Regions from separate parts of the Homo sapiens genome. Here region 2 is linked to region 1. The links are contacts of gene promoters, found by promoter capture Hi-C in blood cells and fetal thymus (Javierre and others, 2016). All regions are on one chromosome and are shown on one strand. Each heading gives the region's core, a stretch centred on a gene start or on the middle of the fragment in contact. The rest is flanking DNA. Distances are from core to core; before and after follow the strand shown.

Region 1 (3,878 bases), core at 966-3,465:
GCATGGGGGAATTTAGGCATGCCCTGAAAAGATATATAGCAGCAGAAAAGGGCTGGGAGGGGCTTTTTTCCCTTGGGGATGCTAGTAAACTGCATAGTGTGTCTGCATTTTGATGGTGACCCATCACATGTGACCAGGTGTGGAATTTTGCACTTGAGGTATTACTTGTCGGAACTCAAAAAGTTTTGGATTTTGGAGCATTTCAGGTTTTGGATTTTTGGATTAGGGATGCTCAATGCTCAATCTGTAGTAAGGTTTTATCTTAATCAAAAAACAGATCATTATTTTGTTAGGGAATAATAATTCTTCAGATAAATTCAAGAGAAATGTGATCCATTTCACCCACCTTAACACAGAGGCACCAGTGTGCCTGCTAAGGTTATTTATAGATCCGAAGTCACTTAATGGTGCAGATAATCTCCCACTTTTTCTTCCCATCATAGTGTCTGGGCTTATGTTGTTCAACACCAACAGGGTAGCCACTGGGCATTTAAATTCAAATGTAAATTAATTAAAATGAAATGAAAAATTTAATTCTTATTGCACACTATCTACATTCCACACACTATGTAGCCACAGTTGGCCACCATATTAGACAGCAAAGAACTAGAACAGCTATACAATCACAGAATGTATTATTAGACAGCACTGGACATGGTTGGGTTGGTCAAATGAACTGCTATTCAAATTTAATACAACACTGATAAATGATAAATGGAGACCATTTATTTACTTCCCATTGAGAAAGCTCTAGCCAGATAAACAGATTCCTGCAAATTGGTCCCTAAGATAAATTTTGTAGGGGCCAGAGGCAGTAGTGTCCTTAGACCCAAGCAAGAAAAACCGTGTTCTAGGCCCTCCATTTTAGAGGACACCAACCTGACTCTTCTTATGGGGTGAAAAATCTCCAGGCCAGCACCCAAAGCCTGGGTACCCACTATGTCCCCAAGACCCAGGACCCTGGAATTCCCTGACTGGTATTACCAAAGCCACTTCTTGGCCCTGAGCTAGCTTCTTCTGAGAACTGTCCTCCCAATGAAGGACCCAACAACTGGTATAGGCACACCTGAGATCCAGACGCAGACAGAGGGTGGCTGTTAGAAAGTGTGAACAGAACTTGGTTTTGTGGGCTGCGGTGTTCACACACAGGTACAAAAAATCCCCTCTTGTCCTTGAAGATAGCTGGGCACAGGAAGCAAAGACGGTGAAGGTGTACAGGCCAAAGGTTTGGATCTGACTCTTTCCCACCTGCCATGTTTCAGGGAGAAACTCCAAGGTGTCTGAGAATCCTGCTTACAAACCTTCCAGGTTGTTATGAAGGTAATTTCTCAAGGCAGGAGCACAGAATATATTTTATTAGCATGATATAGTCCTTGTAAAATTTTAAACATAGGGTAGGTAAGCCCTGGGCTTGCAAATGTTAGGGCGAGGCTGGAAGTCAGAGTAATCAATTCTGTTGGGGTTTCTTGGAGGGTTTGCTCATTATTGCTCGAACTGGTGAACATCTCAAGTATCTTTGCCTGTCGAATTTCTTTCAAAAGGCTGCCTTTCTAGTGAGGTCCAGATGCATCCTTTAGAGACCATCGCTGTTGTTGCTGAAGGCCAGAAACAGCTTCAGATTGTTCACTGTATTGAAGAGGAACCTGTTTACTGGCTCCAGTGTATTTGGGACAAATAAGACTACCATAATGAGGTGAGAAGGCGATTCCTTCCGAAACACTTGGTTTTGGGTACTTTTCCCATAGGGTTGGTCAGGGAAATTCCCTACTCTCGTCCCTACTCCATCCTCCGGGCCAGGCTCCTTGGGCCACATGGGCAGTCTCCAGGAGCGCACAAGACTGCTTTGTCCTGTGCCCGCGGTGCGAGCGCGGTGGCGGCGAAGGGAAACGAGCAGGAGAGTGGCCACCGCGGGTGGAGTTTGGACTCGAACTTTCCTCCGTTCGGACTCGAACTTTCCTCCGTTCTCTCTACGAGTTACTGCCTTCCCGCGGGCTCCCCACAACTCCTGCCCGGAGGCCGAGGCCCGGGCGCGCACCGGGTCGGAGTCGGGCTCGGCAGGTCCCGGGAGCGCGCGCCTCCTCCCCGAGGTCCCGGGCAGCTGCAGACACGGGGAGAGCAGGAGAGCCGGGAAAGAGGAGGGGAAGGGGCGGGGGCGGCCGCCGGCGGCGGGCGGGGAGGAGCCGCCGCGCGCGGGTCCTGGCCAGGGGAGGAGGCAGTGGCGGCGGCGGCGGCGGCAGAGGAGGAGGAGGAGGCGGTGCTCGCGCCGGGCGGTAGAGCGGCGCTGGGACCCATGCGGCCGTGACCCCCGGCTCCCTAGAGGCCCAGCGCAGCCGCAGCGGACAAAGGAGCATGTCCGCGCCGGGGAAGGCCCGTCCTCCGGCCGCCATAAGGCTCCGGTCGCCGCTGGGCCCGCGCCGCGCTCCTGCCCGCCCGGGCTCCGGGGCGGCCCGCTAGGCCAGTGCGCCGCCGCTCGCCCCGCAGGCCCCGGCCCGCAGCATGGAGCCACCCGGACGCCGGCGGGGCCGCGCGCAGCCGCCGCTGTTGCTGCCGCTCTCGCTGTTAGCGCTGCTCGCGCTGCTGGGAGGCGGCGGCGGCGGCGGCGCCGCGGCGCTGCCCGCCGGCTGCAAGCACGATGGGCGGCCCCGAGGGGCTGGCAGGGCGGCGGGCGCCGCCGAGGGCAAGGTGGTGTGCAGCAGCCTGGAACTCGCGCAGGTCCTGCCCCCAGATACTCTGCCCAACCGCACGGTCACCCTGTGAGTATCTCCCGCGACGCTGGGTCCTCTCCCGCTCGGCTCTTTCTTATCTCTCCGCTCAACTTTGGAGCAGGGTCCAGCCGGCACCCACGCGCCTTTGTGTGGAGCTGTAGGCAGGGGGCGGTGCTAGGAAAGACCTCGTGTGCTTGGCATGGGTGCAGTTCAGGGAAAGGCAAGGGAATCTGCGTCCGAGCTGCCTCCCAGCTCCACTAGTTTGCAAAGTAAAGTTTTCGGGTTCTCAGGCGCTCCCCGCGCTGTCCCCGGCGCAGCGCTTTTGGGCTGCGCGGTGCCACGTGAGGATGCAAGTAAACACGCAGTCAACAGAGTTAAAGCTCATTCATCCTGGGCTTGGGTTTCCAGAAAACACAATGCTTGATTGCAAGCGCCAGTCCTTCTGCTTCTTTGCAAATTAAGTTACACTTACGTGGTAGAGTTTGCAAAACACAAGGACTGTGTGCGAGCCCAAACCCCAAGACGCTTCCTTTGCCTTTTGCTATCTTAGTTTTATTACAGTTAAAGAGCACCTTTTAAGATAGAGTTGTTATTAAGGGCTGGAAACATTTCAGATCAATCTGTTTATGTACCTTGCAGTCCCGTTTTCGTGTCTGTGAGGGCTTATATTTAAAAGCCAGGAACATTGGAACTGAAAACCGTGGGTTTATTGAGCCTTCCAACTCGAGGGATTTTTGATTTTCGGATTGAGTTTCCACCTGGAAGGAAAAATTTTGGTAACTCACTTGTGCTGGGATTCACGGTTCAGTTTTGCAAACGTAGTTTTGCCAATTCTAGCTGAACAGTTGGCCCCAGTGACTGTCGAGTTTGTTTTCAGAAGGATGAATTGGTTTGGAAAGTTTTGAGTCTAAGTGTTTCTCATGGGTATTTTGTTCAACTGAAATGTGAGTCCCTTGGCTCGGGGTTCCTCTATGTTGTTTTGGTTGGTTTCCTAAAAAAAGAATCAAGGCAGCCACTATACAAACATGAATGCAAGGACCGCAGCATGATCTATGAAAACACTTAAAGTATGGTTTTAAATGTAACCCAAATTCAGCAGGAGTATACACAGGTAGGCCAGGTATACATTTCATTACTAACACTTTTGTTTACCTTCATTTCCATTTTTTGAAT
Region 2 (3,649 bases), core at 970-3,469, 150 kb before region 1:
CAGCAGCCAGTAGGGAATGCCTCAACAAGTCTACTACAGTTGAAATATTTGAAATCCCTGGGAAAGACAAGGCATAAGAAATTGAAATTACCAGGAAAGTAGAGGGTCCTTTTAATTTTTTTTTCTTCCTAATTTTCCTTCAGGGTAAGAAGCAAGGTCTCAAATTTCAAAAGCCCACACTTCTATAGATTAAAAAAAATAGTGGTATTGCCACCCAAGGATTTTATAAGACAAATGAAAGCTTTCATGTTCTTGTACACATGTGTGTGCTGAACATTTATAGAATATCTCAGTTGGTGAGACAGAACAATGTCTTTCTCAATTTACAGGAAGAAATGTGAAACTGAAAGTGACAACAGTTTGCAACTTTCCACTTCCCACCAAGATCTATGTAATAATATTCTACTTTTAGAAACCCCAAAGTGTACATATGTTTGAGGAATGCAGGGATATGCCAAAAAACACAACATGCCCTGGAATTAGACATTAGAATTAGGTTATGTTCTAATGTTACATCTCCTTTTCTCAACTCAGTAAACTCCCAAGAATTGCAAAATAATTCTATCATAATACTTTTGGGTTTGTTTGTATGTAAATTGTATTCCATTTAAAATAACTTTTACTTTTTTGTTTCTAAAATAATGAAGAATTATTGTAGATGTGTTAGAAAGATTAAAGAAACAAAAATAAGAAAATAGGAATCACACTCCCAGAGGTAATTAACATTTAACATCTTGAAGTACATCCTATCAGTCACCGTGTTATGTTTTGTTCTTTTAAACAAGAGAACCCCCTTTTATTACATAATTCTTCACAATGTTCTTCTGTAAGACAGAAAATGGCTATTTTATACCATTTTTAATATCTGTAGAGTAGAGCTGAGGGAGCAGAAAGATGGGGCATAGCATCTTTATGTATTTTCATGTGTATAAAGTCCAAGAAAATTTTTTAAAGCTAAAGGCTACTTAAAATTAAATATGGTTAAATGAATACTCTTTACTTTGTGTTCAAGCCTTCTTTCTAATAATCTTAAAATAACAATGTAAGGATAAATTGACAAACAGAATGAGAAGAGATAACAAAGTGTGAGAAACTGGAAAGCAATTGGACAAGTATTAACAGATTTAGCAAAACAGAGAAAAACAAAACCAAAGCTACCAGTAGGAGACAGCGTAGAAGCAAGCTGGCAAGCTGACTTAGCCCTTGGAATTCCAAAATCTAAAAATGATATTGTTGGTAGGGTTGAGCAATGAAGGATTTACCAAAAATATGTCTTATAAGCAGCAAGATAAGATCCAGTGCTGTGCTGGTAACCAGCTCCCTACTCCACCCCACCCCCAATAAAAAGCCCTGTTCGCCAGTTTTCATGACGTAAATATTCCCATCATGGCCAATTTCAAGCTATCAATATAATGTTACTCAACACAGAACTGGGAAGACATGAACACATGTCTTCCAGAGAGCTGGCTCAAGCCAGCTCCATCACACCTCTTATTTGACCCTATTAAGCAGTAGAGGAATTATCCTTTTTTTTCTGCAACCAAAGAATGGCTGCTTATTCTCTGAAGAAATGTCAGAGACACAGGACTCAGAGACATGAGGTTTAATTAAGAAGAAGTTACAGCATGAAAAGGGTGACTATATGGAAATGTATTTATGGTGCAGCCTCTTTCTTTTCCTGCTTTCCAGAACTGTCTACTGGCTGCAGATAAGAGAATCTCTTTATGGGGGAACTGAAAACAGAAGAAAAATCAAGGGATAATGGCATTTGAGGGTTCCTCAATGACCGCCCAGCCACATCACACCGGAGTGGAGCCCCAACCTGAGAGGCTCTTACCCAGAGCTTCCAGTCGGCATTTCAGTGGATCACTTTTAAAAATAAATGGTGATGGGGTGATGGAAATGCTACCCCCAAAATATGACATCTTGGAATACTGAGTATTTTAAGTTGAAGGAAATTGAGAAAATTGCAGAAGCAGAAAGGTCTTTGTGATCTTCTCTTTCTCTGATTTCTCCTACCTTTCTCTCCTGAGGTCATAAAAAGAATTCTCTGGCTTACTTCCCCTCAAAGCATGTGGTGTGACCTGATATGACCCTCATTCCAGAGGGATTCTTCCTTATACCTGGAGGCAAAGAACAATCTGAACAAACAGGCCTTGCTAAGTTCCCCCTAGTTTATATCCATTAGATCATACCCTTTTGTCCTCCAATCACACTTTTGCACAGATCCATAACAATATTTAGTTTTCCCTGGGTCTTTAGATCATTTATGAAGGCTCTTGTGCCATATAAAATGTTGATGAAATTAATTTGTTATGTTTTTCTCTTGTTAATCTGTCTCGTTAGAGGAATGTCAGTCTTGAATCTTGTGATGGGTAAGAAAAGGAGAATCCTTTTTCTCCTTTAAAATGGAAAGTTATATTGGTGCTGGTATTACAATTATTGAGATAGGATCTCACTGTCACCAAGGCTATAGTGCAGTGGTGTGATCTCAACTCACTGTAGCCTCTGCTTCCTGGGCTCAAGTGATCCTCCCACCTTCGCCTCCCAAGTAGCTGGGAGAACCATAAAAGAACAACATAAAATTAGCCACCATGCCCAGCTAATTTTTATATTTTTTGTAGATATGGGGTTTCACCATGTTGCCCATGTGGGTCCAGAACTCCTGGGTTCAAGTGATCCTCCCACCTTGGCCTCCCAAAGTGCCAGGATTAAAGGTATGAGCCACTATGCCTTTACTGGTAATATTAGTCTTGTTATTCTGACACTACTATGTATAATGTGGGATGAGCATACATGTAATTTTGAGACATTCTATCATCCCCTGCGTCCTTAAGACCAGAAAAAGGAGGGTAAATGTAACATAGAAAGACTTCAACCCTCACATTTATAGTCAATTGATTTTTGTCAAAGATGTCAATGACTTGTCATCTTTGAGGAAAGGCAAATGTCAAGACAACTGGATTTTTATACACTGAAAATATAAACTTTAATTCAGACCTCACACCATCTATAAAAATTAACTCAAAAATGGATTATAGACTTAAATATTGGAGCTAAAGCTATTAAACAATTAGAAAAAAAAATAGAAGGTAATCCTCATGACCTTGGATTAAGCAAATATTTCTCAGATATGACACCAAAAGCAAAATGTGTTAAATGAAAAAATGATAAATTGGGTATCTTTGATAAATTTTATCAAAATTAAAATCTTTTTACCTTCAAAATATATCGTTTAATAATGAAAAGGCAAGACACTGACTGGGATAAAATATTTGCAACATATATAACTAAGAAAAGACTAGTACTCATGGTAAAAAAAAAAAAAAAGACTTTTTATAACTCAGTAAGAAGCCAAACAATCCAGTTTTTTAAAAAAGGACAAAAGATTTGAATAGACATAAAGAAAAATGCAAACGTGATCGAGAAGTTCATGAAAAGATGTTCAACATGAGTAATCATCAGGAAAAATCAAACTAAAATCACAATGAAATACTACTTCACAGAGACTAGAAAAGCTATAATCAAAAAGAATGACAATACCAAATATTGGTCAGGATTTGCTAATGGGAGAACACCTTGAAATTTTGGAAATCAATATGGCTACTTCTTAAAAACGTAAACAGAAACTTACCACACAACGTAGCAA

Evidence for each region. Contacts are between HindIII fragments. The CHiCAGO score rates a contact against its expected background, and 5 or more counts as called.
Region 2: a fragment that was not itself captured here is called in contact with the fragment with the promoter of ADGRA3 in region 1 in 1 of 17 cell types (fetal thymus); the score reaches 5.3 in fetal thymus.

What each region holds. Positions count from the first base shown.
Region 1 is chr4:22,514,403-22,518,280 of GRCh38, reverse strand. It overlaps ADGRA3 (adhesion G protein-coupled receptor A3), which reads left to right and starts at 2,215. Exons shown (of 19, transcript NM_145290.4): 1 at 2,215-2,753. The coding sequence starts at 2,497. It overlaps MIR12115 (microRNA 12115), which reads right to left and starts at 2,969; the gene lies at 2,896-2,969. The HindIII fragment of the contact is 8,309 bases long and covers 1-3,878 here.
Region 2 is chr4:22,665,249-22,668,897 of GRCh38, reverse strand. No RefSeq gene overlaps it. Among named protein-coding and RNA genes, the nearest start is that of ADGRA3, 150 kb to the right of the region's middle. The HindIII fragment of the contact is 3,952 bases long and covers 244-3,649 here.